2 separate regions of the Homo sapiens genome follow, and region 1 is linked to region 2. The links are contacts of gene promoters, found by promoter capture Hi-C in human tissues and cell types (Jung and others, 2019). All regions are on one chromosome and are shown on one strand. Each heading gives the region's core, a stretch centred on a gene start or on the middle of the fragment in contact. The rest is flanking DNA. Distances are from core to core; before and after follow the strand shown.

The links. Contacts are between HindIII fragments. The study calls those that stand out against the background at their distance.
Region 1: a fragment that was not itself captured here is called in contact with the fragment with the promoter of CNFN in region 2 in 4 of the 25 tissues and cell types used here (bladder, dorsolateral prefrontal cortex, liver and 1 more).

What each region holds. Positions count from the first base shown.
Region 1 is chr19:41,902,045-41,909,056 of GRCh38, forward strand. It overlaps ARHGEF1 (Rho guanine nucleotide exchange factor 1), which reads left to right. Exons shown (of 29, transcript NM_004706.4): 16 at 230-312; 17 at 489-614; 18 at 740-854; 19 at 1,263-1,363; 20 at 1,663-1,740; 21 at 1,991-2,066; 22 at 2,172-2,339; 23 at 2,905-2,992; 24 at 3,131-3,217; 25 at 3,716-3,783; 26 at 3,895-3,981; 27 at 4,413-4,576; 28 at 4,659-4,759; 29 at 5,061-5,408. The coding sequence ends at 4,742. ERFL (ETS repressor factor like) reads right to left here. Exons shown (of 6, transcript NM_001365103.2): 6 at 5,660-6,632. The coding sequence ends at 6,184. Among named protein-coding and RNA genes, the nearest start is that of ARHGEF1, 22 kb to the left of the region's middle. RefSeq lists enhancers at 1,719-2,324, 2,325-2,929, 3,535-4,139. The HindIII fragment of the contact is 9,702 bases long and covers 1-6,839 here.
Region 2 is chr19:42,385,360-42,392,386 of GRCh38, forward strand. CNFN (cornifelin) reads right to left here and starts at 4,938. Exons shown (of 4, transcript NM_032488.4): 1 at 4,881-4,938; 2 at 3,567-3,680; 3 at 1,981-2,117; 4 at 1,660-1,883. The coding sequence starts at 3,678. The coding sequence ends at 1,794. RefSeq lists silencers at 1,846-2,025, 2,046-2,225. The HindIII fragment of the contact is 13,351 bases long and covers 1-7,027 here.

The DNA.
Region 1 (7,012 bases), core at 739-3,238, 490 kb before region 2:
GCCAGGGTCCCTCTGTGTACCCCACTGCCCCACGGGCAGCTCTGCTCTAGCCCTGGGTTCAACCTGCTCGGGAACCCCAGGGTTCACATGGGGTGGGGGCAGATACGCCATCCGGTCCCGAGGATCAGACACAGACACACCTGCAGCCCTACCCCCACCACACCGCAGCAGGCCCCGCACAGCATCTTCCAGACCCTGGTGGAGCATCCCTTTCCTCCTGCCCCCACAGCCCTGTTCCTCGATCGCCTGATGAAGCGGAGGCAGGAGAGTGGCTACCTCATCGAGGAGATCGGAGACGTGCTGCTGGCCCGGGTGAGATGCCCAGCCCTCCCGCTCCTCCCAGCTAGACACATGGAATTCAGGCCCGGGACGGGTCCTGAGCCCACCCTACTCCAGTCCCAGGGTCTGGGCTTCCAGCCTGTCGTACTTTAGTCCCTGTTCTTGCCCATCCCCACTGAGACACCTGCCTGGCCTGAATCTCGCTGTAGTTTGATGGTGCTGAGGGCTCCTGGTTCCAGAAAATCTCCTCCCGCTTCTGCAGCCGCCAGTCATTTGCCTTAGAGCAGCTCAAAGCCAAGCAACGCAAGGACCCTCGGTTCTGTGCCTTCGTGCAGGTGAGGTGGGGTCTGGACTCCAGCTTCCCAGGGAGGAGGGGCCTGGAGACCCAGACTCCTAGGTGCCTGCGCCCTGGGGTGAGCCCAAAGCCTGGGCCATCGCAACACCAGCATGTTTCCCGCAGGAAGCTGAGAGCCGCCCGCGGTGCCGCCGCCTGCAGCTGAAGGACATGATCCCCACGGAGATGCAGCGGCTGACCAAGTACCCCCTGCTCCTGCAGAGCATCGGGCAGAACACAGGTACCGCGGGCCTGGATCTCTGGGCCTCGGCTCTCCTCTTTTTTTTTTACATTTTTTTTCTCACTCATTTTCATCAGTGATACCATCACAGCTCACTGCAGCCTCAACCTCCCAGGATCTACCATCCTCCCACCTCAGCTCCCCAAGTAGCTGGGACCCCAAGGGCACACCACCATGCCCAGCTAATTTTTTTAGTTTTTTTTTTTAGAGACGGGGTCTCGCCATGTTGCCCAGGCTGGCTTTGAACTCCTGGTCTCAAGCTATCCTCCCGCCTCAGCCTCCCAAAGTGCTTGGATTACAGGCGTGAGCCACCATGCCCGGCCAGCTGTCCTTTGTCTAACCTTGGCTGCCCAATCTGGAGCCTCCAGGGCAGGGGTTCACCAGAGCTGCTCTCTCCCTTGCCTGCAGAAGAGCCCACAGAACGGGAGAAAGTGGAGCTGGCAGCCGAGTGCTGCCGGGAAATTCTACACCACGTCAACCAAGCCGTGCGTGACATGGAGGACCTGCTGGTGAGCCTGGGCTGGCCCCACACCCGGGACAGTGGATGGTGTGAGAGCAGGGGGTGGACCCTACCTCAGCCTGTCCAGAAGTCACACCCCACCCCTTGGCTTGTCTCCCTCAAGGGTCACTGTGTCCAGGGGTTGGCTTGGCCCTCAGCATCTCCCTCTCAGGGTCATTGGAGGTCAGGCCCAACCCTCAGCTTGCCCGCATCAGAAGTTGGTCTTGGCTCTCATCTTACCAATGTGGGTCACTGCAGGTCAGCCCCAGCACTTAGCTTGTCCCCATAATGCTCCCGTCTCTGCCCCAGAGGCTCAAGGACTATCAGCGGCGCCTGGACTTGTCCCACCTTCGGCAGAGCAGCGACCCTATGCTGAGCGAGTTCAAGGTGTGACCATACCCTCCTGCCTCCCCCGCCCCCCTACTCCTTGGCCCAGGGGATTCTGTGATACAGCCCCCAGCCTGTCCTGCCCATCCCATAATACACCCAGGAAGCGAGAGCTCTGTCCCCCACCTCATGCCAATCCCATGATCCCCAGCCTGTGGTCATCCCCGGCCACTGCCCTGCCCTTCCCCTCCCCACCAACCCCAATCACCCCCTGCCAACCTGCACAAACCATCACCCCCTCCTGCCCCAGAACCTGGACATCACCAAGAAGAAATTGGTCCACGAGGGCCCACTGACGTGGCGGGTGACTAAGGACAAGGCAGTGGGTGAGTGCCAGAGCAGCTGCCTAGTGCAGGGTGTTGGGGCAGTGAGCCAAGGGCGGGGAGGGGGTCGCGCGGGGGCACGCCGTGTGAGCACTGCTCGCCCCGTAGAGGTGCATGTGCTGCTGCTGGACGACCTGCTGCTGCTGCTCCAGCGCCAGGACGAGCGGCTGCTGCTCAAGTCCCATAGCCGGACACTGACGCCCACGCCCGATGGCAAGACCATGCTGCGGCCCGTGCTGCGGCTCACCTCCGCCATGACCCGCGAGGTGGCCACCGGTGAGTGCAGCCACTGCATGGCCCAGGGCAGAGGGTGTCTTTTTTGGGCAGAGCTGCCTGTGGAGTGGGGAGCAGAACCCTCTAGAGAGCCAGGGAGCCAGCATTCTAGCAAAGAGGTTGAGAAGTAGGTGGAGGTGGGCAGGGCGGGGCCAGGCCTAGAGGGTTTATAAGTGAGGTAGGAACTGCTGCAGGTGTTTGCACAGAGGCGTGTCTTGTGTAAACAAGGAGAAGAAAGGCCAGGAGTCCAGTGAGGAGGGATTTGTAAACATACTACTAGGAAGTTGCACCAGGGCCACAAACACTGGAAGCGGCTGGAGGGTGGGAGTGGCTGGAGGGGTTTCGTTAGGTAAGCCAGGGTACATGCCCGATTCCATAAGGAGGTGTGAGAGGTGGGGCTCAGGAGGACACATCGGGCCCTGGATATTAGCAGACAGTGAGTGGTGAGTTGAGCCATGGGAGCCCTGAGAGCGCCACCACTGTGGGTGACTTCTCCAGCTTGTGCTTAGGGAGGGGCAGGCACTGGGGGGACCTGGGCTCTGAGCCCCATCTCCCCCTCTCCCTGCAGATCACAAAGCCTTCTACGTCCTTTTTACCTGGGACCAGGAGGCCCAGATATACGAGCTGGTGGCACAGACTGTGTCGGAGCGGAAAAAGTGAGGGGGGGTCTGAGTTCTGAGTGTGGGTGGAGGACGCCCAGGTTTCTGGGTTCCCAGGGACAGGAGGGCTGTGGGGAGGCCCTGGCATAGGGTCTGGGGGCTCTGACTGCCCAGGGATTTGGCCTTTCTCCCCAGCTGGTGTGCTCTCATCACTGAGACTGCCGGATCCCTGAAAGTCCCTGCCCCTGCCTCTCGCCCTAAGCCCCGGCCCAGCCCGAGCAGGTGAGGGGGGCCATGGAGAGAGCTGGAGGTTCAGGGAGTGGGGCCGGAAGGCGGGGCAGGCTTCCCTCCACAACTCCAGAACCGTCTCTGTGTGAGCATGCACATGTGTGAATGCATGTGTGTGCATACATGTGTGTCTGTACGCAAGTATGTGACTGTGCGTGCATATATAGTGTGTGTATGCATGCATGTGTGCGTGTGCATGTGTGTGCGTGTATGGTGTGTGTGTATGCATATGTGTGCATGCGTGTGACAGCATGTGCATGCATGTGTGTGTGTGTGCGCATGTGCCGACCCCACCACTGCCCCGTCTGTCTCCTGTCTCCAGGCCTCTGTGTCTTCCATTGTCTGGGCCTCTCTGTCTCCCTGTCTCCCGGCCTCGACCTCTGTCTCTGTCTCCGGACCTCCCTGCCTCCCCACCTCCAGCTCTCTGTCTCCCTGCCCCTGCGGCCCCCCAGGGCCAGGGGTGTGGGGTCACCCAGCACTTCCTCCCCTCAGCACCCGAGAACCCCTCCTCAGCAGCTCTGAGAACGGCAATGGTGGCCGAGAGACGTCTCCAGCTGATGGTGAGACCAGAGGGATGCTGGGTGAGGGGCCAGGTTGGGGCTGCCGGGTGAAGAGAGGCATCCACAGGAGGCCCGGCAGGATCTGAGCTCCCTCTCTGTTCCCCAATCCAGCCCGGACCGAGAGAATCCTCAGTGACCTCCTGCCCTTCTGCAGACCAGGCCCCGAGGGCCAGCTCGCTGCCACGGCCCTTCGGAAAGGTAGCCCAGCTCTGCCCCTCCAGGGTGGCCACCAGCCCAAACAGTGCCTCTGTTCCAACTAGAACAAGGCTCTCCACGTCAAAAATTTCCTTACGCCCAGCTGCCAGAAAACAAATGCTCCAAACCCACCCAGCCTGCACCACTGTCCTGGGTGCCCACGTCCCTCTTCTGCAGCCACCATCCCTTGCTTGATTCTATATTTAGCCTCTTCCTGAACACATCTCTGTCTTCAGTACCTTCCTGCCCTGTCCCAACCCTAAACCCAGCCTCACTTCTTCACCTCCCTTTGGATCCCCGAACCCCATCTGCTCAGCCTTGCCTGGCACCCACCTTCACCTCCAGCCCCTACACATCCCCTTTGGAATCCCCCATCCCAGATCCCAGCCCAGCCCCCTGGTCTCCTGACTCCACCCCTCCTTGCCCCTGGCCAGTGCTGTCCCTGAAGCAGCTTCTGTTTCCGGCGGAGGAAGACAATGGGGCGGGGCCTCCTCGAGATGGGGATGGGGTCCCAGGGGGCGGCCCCCTGAGCCCAGCACGGACCCAGGAAATCCAGGAGAACCTGCTCAGCTTGGAGGAGACCATGAAGCAGCTGGAGGTGGGGCGGGACGGGCCAGGGGTGCCCTGAGTGGGCTGGGGAAGGAAGGGGCCCCCCTCATCCATGACCCCCACCCCACCAGGAGTTGGAGGAGGAATTTTGCCGCCTGAGACCCCTCCTGTCTCAGCTTGGGGGGAACTCTGTCCCCCAGCCTGGCTGCACTTGAGGTTCCCGCCCAGGAAGGTGAGTGGGGCACCTGGGGGCCAGGGCGCTGTCCTGAAAGGAGGGTCCCCCTCCAGAGCTCGCATCCCTACAGCCCCTTCTGTCCATCTCCCTCTTTGTCTTTTCTGAATCTCCCCACTCCACCTCGTGTTTCTCATCTCTGTGTCTCTGTTTCTGATAATCTGTTTCTCTGTCTCTGTGCCCGCCTGCCTCTCCCCACCTCCCCTTCTCTCTCTGCTCTCCCTGTCTTGTCTCTGTGTCTGTCTCTCCCTGTCTCTCTCTCCATCTCTCCCCGTCTCCCCTCTTCTCCTACATCCCCCAGGCCTTTTGCAAGAAGGAGAGGAATGGGGGAGAGGACGTGAGGGACCACCCCCACCCACACAGCTGCCGCAGCATCTCACACCCCGAGGGCCTGAGGAGAGGGAGCTGTGGGCCACGCCTGGGAGGGGCCCAGCTGGGGTTACTGGCCCCGCATGAGCCTCGGCCATCTCTCCCTCCTGCCCTCTGCTTGGGGGACTCAGGGCTCCATTCTGGAGGGCACCACGGTGACCCGGGCCATCTCAGTATTGCCTGTGGGGGCCACCCCTCCACCCCCACCCCCAAGTGCCTTCGCTCTGTTTTTATACCCTGAATTGGAGGTTTATTTTTTAATATATATTATCTAAGAAGAGATCTGTGTGTGTGATGGCGGGGTGGGGCCTGGCATGGCGTCTGGAACTCTCTGTGACTGTCTGGCGTTGACATCCTGGGTCTGTGCCTCTGCGCCTCCCTCCAGTTGTTCATTCATTCATTCATTCATTTCTTTGTTTGAACCGTTACTCCCCAGGCACTCCGTACACACACTGGGTATGAGGCGTCTCCCTGACACCGCCCTCCAGCTCCCACCCCCGATCCCCCATGCTCAGCACTGGGCACCCCGAGTCTCACTCTCTGTTCTTTTATTTCTGTAGTAAACTCTCTGGAGGTGACTGTTGGGATCATGGGGAGCTGGTGGGGAGGGGGGCCCCTCCTGGGTGGGGGCTGGGGGCGGGGTTATTGCTCTGAGCTCCCTGTCCCCAGGGGGGCCTATATGGGGGGGGTGTCAGGACTGGGGCCAGCACAGGGGGTTTGGAGACACGGCCACACAAACACTTGGGGCATAGCACAGGGGTGGGCGGGCGGGGCAGGCTGGGCGCCATATTGCACTTTGGGAGTGGGGCCAGGCGGGGACCCCCCTCAAACTGGAGCCTGGGGAGGAGGCCGGAGGCCATCACATTCCCTCTGTCCTCTGTGGAGGGGGAAGTGAGACCCCCCCCACTCTGGGGCTGGGGAAGGAGACTGGGGCAGCAATGTGCCCAGACCTGGGAGGTGCTGAGGGCTGGTCCTGGGCCTTGGGCCAGGCATCAAGGGCAGACGGGCAGCCACCCTGGTCCCTGCCTCAGCAGAATCCATTGCCCCCTGCCGGCTCAGCTGCCGGTCCCCCCTTTGCCCGCCTTTGCCTTGGGGGGTGCCGGGAGACCCTCATCGCCCTCGCTGTCAGAGCTGCAGCCGCTGACGTCGGTGATCTCCAGCTCCGAGTCGCTGTCCTCCTTCCCACCAAGGGCAGCCTCTGGACCCCCAGCCCCTGGCAGCGCCAGGCGAGGGGCCGCTGCCAGGCCCGAGGGGCGCTCGGGGCCCAGGCCCTCCCCTGTCGAGGCCAGCAGGGGCGTGGCTGTGGGGCCTCCCCCTGCCCCTGACGAGGGCAGGTGGCCCAGGGAACTGGCCAGAGGGTTGGGGTAGAAATGCGGGGGGTAGAGAGAGGGAGGCAGCTTGGGGAAGGGGCCCGTGAGGTACGGGTTAAAGTTCCAGGGGTACTCAGGGAAGGCGCGGCCATAAGGACCCAGCAGGCCAGGGGGCTTGGAATAGCTGGTGGCACCTGGGGGGCACAGGGGTAGGTCAGGCTGGGGCACCTGCCTGCCTGGGGACCAGTAAAGGGGGCTGCCTCCCTGCCATATCCCACCCCATCTCCCCGCATCCCTCCTACATGGCATCTTACCCCCTCATACAGCTTCCCCCAACTCCATCTCCTCCCACTCCCCCACTTGTCTTCCCATTCCTTAGGCACCCCTGAAAGCCCCTGTCTCCCTCATTTCCCCTCCCTCACATCACATCCTTTTCTGGGTTTTACACACACACACCCTACAACCTGGCCCTGGGCCCCCTTCCCCATCTCTTCTCTTGTCTTTTCTCATCCTCTTCCCTCAAGCCTGCAGCTTCTCCCACTGTGCCCCCAGCACCCCAGAACCTCCAGGCTCT
Region 2 (7,027 bases), core at 3,688-6,187:
GGATCACGAGGTCAGGAGATTGAGACCATCCTGGCTAACACGGTGAAACCCTGTCTCTACTAAAAAATACAAAAAATTAGCCGGGCATGGTGGCGGGTGCCTGTAGTCCCAGCTACTCGGGAGGCTGAGACAGGAGAATGGCGTGAACCTGGGAGGCAGAGCTTGCAGTGAGCCAAGATTGCGCCACTGCACTCCAGCCTGGGCGACAGAGCGAGACTCCATCTCAAAAAAAAAAAAAAAATTTTTTTTTTCGTAGAGATGTCTCGCTGTGTCGCCCATGCTAGTCTCCAAATCCTGTCCTGAAGTGATCCTCCTGCCTCAGCCCTCCGAAAGCATTGAGATTAGAGGCAGGAGCCAACACATCCAGCCCACAGTGATTTGAGTTCACACTTTGGCCTTTCCCTGTGTACCATCTCTTGTTCTCACAATAGCCATATGACATGCTAGGGACTGTTAGTCCTATAGGGGGAATCAGGTTCAGAAAGGTTTATGAATTCACTAAGATAACACAGCTAAATGGTGAGGAGTCAAGATTAGATCCCAGGTCTGTCCAATTTTGAGACCTGAACATTTTTTGATCTGCTGTTGGTTGCTTTTGCAGGAAAGAGGGTTGATTGAAGTAGACAGTCCCTAAAAATTCCTTTTTAGGCCAGGCGCGGTGGCTCATGCCTGTAATCCCAGCACTTTGGGAGGCCAAGGCGGGAGGATCACCTGAGGTCGGGAGTTCGAGATCAGCCTGACCAACATGGAGAAACCCCGTCTCTACTAAAAATGCAAAATTAGCTGGGGATGGTGGCGCATGCCTGTAATCCCAACTACTCGGGAGGCTGAGGCAGGAGAATCGCTTGAACCCGGGAGGTGGAGGTTGCAGTGAGCTGAGATCACAACATTGCACTCCAGCCTGGGCAACAAGAGCGAAACTACGTCTCAAAAAAAAAAAAAAAAAAAAGGTCCGGGTGCGGTGGCTCACTCCTGTAATCCCAGCATTTTGGGAGGCCAAGGCAGGCGGATCATGAGGTCATGAGATTGAGACCATCCTGGCTAACACGGTGAAACCCTGTCTCTGCTAAAAAAAAAAAAAAAAAATTAGTTGGGCGTGGTGGCGGGCACCTTTAGTCCCAGCTACTCGGGAGGCTGAGGCAGGAGAATGGCGTGAACCCGGAGCTTACAGTGAGCCAAGATCGCGCCACTGCACTCCAGCCTGGGCAACAGAGTGAGACTCCGTCTCAAAAAAAAAAGAAAAAAAATTCGTTTTTAGCTCCAGAGAGCCTTAAGCTTATAAGTTCTCTGCTTTGGAGACAAAAGTCCCCCACGCCTGTTCGAATTGTGTGCAGGCCAACAGTCCATAGATATGGAGCAAGCAAGGGCGCTCTCCTGTTTTTTCTTTGAACTTCAGTGCCTCCGTCCTCCCAAGACTGACTTTCTGGTTTTGCTTATTTTCAGAATGCAGGCAGCTTCAGGCAGGGAGTCTGCAGCTAAAGAGTTAGTGGTTTTACTTTGTTAGGGTGAGGGCAACTGGGGTTTGGGAGGGATAACTTGACAAAGTCACACACTGCCTGGCGGGGTCACACGTAGGCATCTGTCTTGTCCCCACCTCTCTCACCAATCCTCTCTCTCCACCCAGATTCCTACCCTGGGACAAAATGGATGTAGGCGGAGTTGGTTTTCAGGTTTTTATTGTGGGTGTATTTCTGGCAGCGGGACAGGGGTGGTGAGGCAGTCCCTCCCAGGAGTGGCCAGAGAAGGCCAGAGGCGAGACTGGTGGAAAAGGACGGGGAAGACAGGGAACTTCCTTACTCTCGGATCTTCAGTTCCCGCGCCATCTGGCAGAGGGCGCAGGGCAGACAAAAGGTGAGGGCCGCCCAGTCGTGCCCGACGGAGCCCTAGAGGGTAGGAGAGAGCGGTCAGGAGCCCCGCGGTGGGTCCCAGGAGGCCAGTCCCCAGCTCCCTGCTCCCGCGGGTCCCCAGCCCGGCGCGCACCTGGATGTGGTAGCGCTCCCGCATGCCGGTGCGGATGGAGTGCAGGCCTCCGGGCAGGTAGGGCGCGCAGCAGCACTCGCCAAAGTCGTCGGAGATGCGGCAGGCAAGGCACAGAGGAGCAAAAGTGCCGCACAGACCTGGGCGGGGCGCAGGCGCTCAGGGGCGGGGCCAGCCGGGGCCTCCCGACGGCTCCGCCCCGGGGGGGGCGCGGTTGATTCGCCGCGGAGGGGCATTGAGGGTCCCAGCCAAGGAGAGGTCCCAGAGGGAATTAGAGGTCCGAGGAGAGGATGGCTTAGCGATTGGAAGGCAGGGTTTTTCTTTTTTTTTTTTTCTTCTTTTTTTTTTTTTTTAGAAATTGGAGGCTGGGTGCAGTGGCTTACGCCTGTAATCCCAGCACTTTGGGAGGCCTAGGCGGGAGGATCACGAGGTCAGGGGTTTGAGACCAGCCTACCCAACATAGTGAAACCCCGTCTCTACTAAAAATACAAAAATTAGCCGGGCGTGGTGGTGTGTGCCTGTAATCTCAGCTACTAGGGAGGCTGAGGCAGGAGAATCGCTTGAACCCGGGAAGCGGAGGTTGCAGTGAGCATAGACTGTGCCATTGCATTCCAGCCTGGGCGACAGAGCAATACTCCGTCTCAAAAAAAACAAAAAACAAAACAAAAAAAAAAACGAAAGAAAGAAAAAAAAAGAAAAAGAAATTAAAGTCTCGGTCTGTCATCCAGGCTGGAGTGCAGTGGTGTGATCACATGTCTCACTGTAGCCTCGACCTCCTGGGCTCAAGCAATCCTCCCGCCTCGGCCTCCCGAGTAGCTGGGACTACTGGTGTGTGCCACCACCTCGGGCTAATTTTATTTTTTATTTTTATTTTTGAGACGGAATCTCGCTCTGTTGCCCAGACTGGAGTGCAGTGGCGTGATCTCGGCTCACTGCAACCTCTGTCTCCCGGGTTCAATCAATTCTCTTTCTCAGCCTCCCGAGTAGCTGAGTTTACAGGCGCCCGCCACCACGCCCGGTTTTTTTTTTTGTATTTTTAGTAGAGACGGGGTTTCACCATCTTGGCCAGACTGGTCTTGAACTCCTGACCTTGTGGTCCACCTGCCATGGCCTCCCAAAGTCCTGGGATTACAGGCGTGAGCCACTGCGCCCGACCTATTTTTTATTTTTATTTTTGTAGAGATGGGGATCTCATTATGTTGCCCAGGCTGATCTTGAATTCCTGGCCTCAAGGGATTGTCATGCCTTGGCCTCCCAAAGTGTTGGGATTACAGGCATGAGCCACTGCACTGGGCCAGGAGCTAGGGTTTGAAGAGGGAGTTGGGGGTCACAGTGAGGAAAGCTGAGCATGCAAAGGGGAGGTTGAGGGCCTGATAAGTTGAGTGTGGGAAGGCATGAGGTAGTATCCTAAGGAGTGTTGGGGGTCTGAGGAAAGGGTGACTGTTAGAGTGGGAATTCCAAGTCCAGGGAAGGGAGGTGGGAGTGGGGTTAGCAAGCGGTGGGAGGAGGTTGGAGGTGAGCTTCCCTCTCCTGATTCCCCCCAAACCCATCTTCCACCAGGCCTGGAGAGGGAGCAGGCAGGCACTCACAGACAGGCATGTCGTTGCAGCAGTCCGTGAGACCTGTGTGCCAGTCACTGAGCTGGGTCTGGTAGCAGCTGGTGGTGGCGCACTGGGGCTGACTGGTCACAGGGTAGGACATAGCTGCAGAGGTGGGAGGGTAGGGGTCAGCTGGCAGCCTCGCAGCATCTCCTGGGCCCCGCACTTCGGCCACCCTTCCCTGTGCCGGGCAGTCTGGGCGGGGCCGCCAGGCCGCCCACTGAAGGGACACCACTGTGCCTCCCCCTTCCCTTCTGCTACATCTGGGCACCGGCAACCCCAGTCTGTCCCTGTTGCTGCTGGCTCCTGCACGTCTGGTTAGGCTGGGGGTGGGGGTCTCCTGCACATCTGAGGAAGGGTGGGGACCACATCTGGGTGGGGCCTGGCGGTGCCGCCTCCTCCTCCACGTCTGGGCCTGGGTTCTGGGTTGCAGCATTTCTGGGGCCTCTGGGGTGGAAGCAGGCGCCGTCTGTCTTCGAAGCAAGGGTGCCCAGGGGAGGGAGGCGGCCAGGTTCCAGTACTGAGAGGGTTGCTGGTCCACCCAGCGGTCCCACCTTTGCCTTTCACGTTGTCGTGCATCTCAAACTGCATCTTGCTGGCCCTGAGGAGGTGGCGTTGGGGACGGCAGAAGTGGCTGTGGCAACAGTGGCAGAGTCTGTCCAAGGGACGCTGGATACTGGGGAGGTGGGGGCAAGGGACTGGGGCACTGGGGGCTGGGCTCTCAGGGGGAGGGGAGCTGGGGAGAAAGAGGCCAAGTCAGCCTGTCAACCAGGAGAGACATGGAATAGGGAATGGATAGGGCGGGGGCGAGAAACTCGCCCATGTCTTTCCAACTGCCCGACAGATTGCAGAGGACCCTCCCCATACCCGAGATAGAGCTTGAGGGAGAACAAGAAATGGAGATGGACAGAGTCAGAGACAAGGGGAGAAAGATCAGAGCCAGGTGCCCGTAGAGATGTCACCAGTAATGCCCACATGTGCCCAGCACTTTGACTCCTCTGCAAGCCCATCTCACAGATGAGCACTGAGGCTCAGAGACATGAGGAGGAACGCCCCACGTCTGACGGCCCAGGCCAAGGGGGTTCATAGAGGTGATGCTGGGCCCCAAGACTTCTAAATTCAGCTCAGCACACCCCAGTTAAGAAGGACAGATTTGGGGGCATTGGGAAGGACAGAGATGTCCCGAGAGACCGACAATCAGCGATATGAAAGGAGACAGAGTGATATGAGTGGGATGAGGAGGAGGGAGAACAGAGCAGAGGCGCCCAACCTCAAAGAAGAGGGCTGCGGAGGGGATGTTCCTACCTGCAGGATCGCGATGGCAGTGATGGAGGCAGACGTGTGGAGACACGGGCACTGACTTCTCCGTCTCAGCCCAGAGCCACTTATATGGGCGGCCACGCAGCCCTGGGCGGGGCTCTGACAGAGGTGCCCAGGGAGCCAAGCCGGTCTGATCGACCCTCTCCCCACACTGGGATTTCCCGCCCTCCCTCTCCACTCCCATCCCCCCACTTCTCCTCCTGCCTCAGCTCCCAGGACCCAGGGAAAAGAAGGTGGCGGGGGGTGGGAGGTTTGGCGGGGGCGGGGGGCCACAGCCGGGTCAATGCGCAGAGACCAAAAGAGAGGGAGAGACAGAAACACAGTGTCAGAAAGGCAGGCAGGGAAGTCCCTCTAGACAGAAAGGAGAGAGAGGAGATTCAGAGAGATGGAGAGACGCAGGAAGATGTAGAGAGATGGAGAGGTGCCAAGAAACAGAGGGGCACAAAAATGTGAAAAGAAATAACAAGAAGAGGGGAGATGGGCCAGGCATGGTGGCTCTCGCCTGTAATCCCAACCCTGTAATCGCCTGAGGTGAGAGGATCGCTTGAGCCCAGGAGTTGAAGACCAGCCTGGGCAACATAGGGATACCCCATCTCTACAAAAAATACAAATAGAATTAGCCGGGCATGGTGGCATGTGCCTGTAGTCCCAGCTACTTGAGAGGCTGAGGCAGGAGGATCGCTTGAGTCCAGAAGTTTGAGGCTGCAGTGAGCCGTGTTCCCGCCACTACACTCCGGCCTCAGTGACAGAGCAAGACCCTGTCTTAAAAAAAAAAAAGGAAAGAAAAGGGGAGATGGGAGACAGAAGAGAGACGGAGATGGAAAAGTGGAGAGGCAGGTGGGGGGATCACTGAACAGGCTTAGAGGGCAGGGAAATGGGGAGAGGTGATGGGTGGGGAGAGAAAAAGGCCGGGTGGAGTGGGAGAGAGTGCTGTGTGGGACTCCCCTTTCAGGGTCTCGCTCATCTCTCTCAGTGATATCCCCACTTTCCTGGGAGAGGGGGACAGTGTCCTCCCCATTCAAGCCAGGAGACACATGGGGGGCAGTGTGTTTTGGGGAATGACTCATGTTGGAACCAAAGTAAATAAACACACCTCACCCCAGCTCCAAATTGGGAAGGGAGGAGGCTGGGAACTGAAAAGCCGCAGTTCCTGAAGGACGTGGACGTCACCTGGGACTCCTGGGTCCTAATGGAGCAAAGGAGTGGGGGCTTGGACCCCTGGGTCTGAGGGAGGAGGGGCTGGGGCCCTGGACTCCTGCGTCTCATGAGGCCAGGCTGCACATCCCTCAGTAGGGTAGGGGTCCTGGGATTCCACACTGCTGGGCTCCTGAGCAGGGAAGGAGCTGGGGGTCTGGGTGCCTGAATCGCCAAAGTTTCCCCCCAACAGGCCTGACGGGGTTGGGAGGTGACTCAGTGAGGGAAGCAGCATTAGAGCTGGGTGGGGTTCTCAGCACGGGTGTCACCCCAAAAATGTAGGAGGCACTAGAAAACTGGGGTGTCACCTGCAGAGAAGGTGGTGTCATCACCCCGCCGGGTATGGGGTGATGGCAGGTGGATCACCCTGCTAGCTGGGATCCCAGGTGTCCCCTCCCTCCCTCCCTCCCTCCAACACATTAGGACCCAAGCCTTGGTCTCCCAGCACCACCCAGATGGTTGGGTCTTCCTGTCCCCAGAACTCCCGGCAGCGCTCACTGTCTTGCCGGTGCACGTCCGTCATTGGTCCTAGAGCCTGGATGTCTGGGGGACATCTCCTCACTTGTGTCCTAACATCCCTGTCTCCTCATCTCTGAATCTTCGTCTCTCACCCTGCATCTTCACCTTTCCAGCTGTGAATCTGTCTTTCTTTCCTCATCTCTGCAAATCTCTTTCCAAATCTCTGTCTCTCCATCTCTGGGTCCCTCTCCTTCCAGGCTCTGTGTCTCTGTGCCCTTATCCCGGGGTCTCTGTCTCCTATGTCAAAATCTCTTCTGAATCTCGCTTCCCATCTCTGTTCATCTCCAGACCTGCCCTGTGGAGGCAGCTACAGGGCCCCATCCCCCCTGCTGTCCAGACTAAGGGTGCAGGTGACTCAAGGTCAGTCATCTCCGAGGACCCCAGGGCTCCCAGCATGACACTCTGAGTTGTCCTCAAGT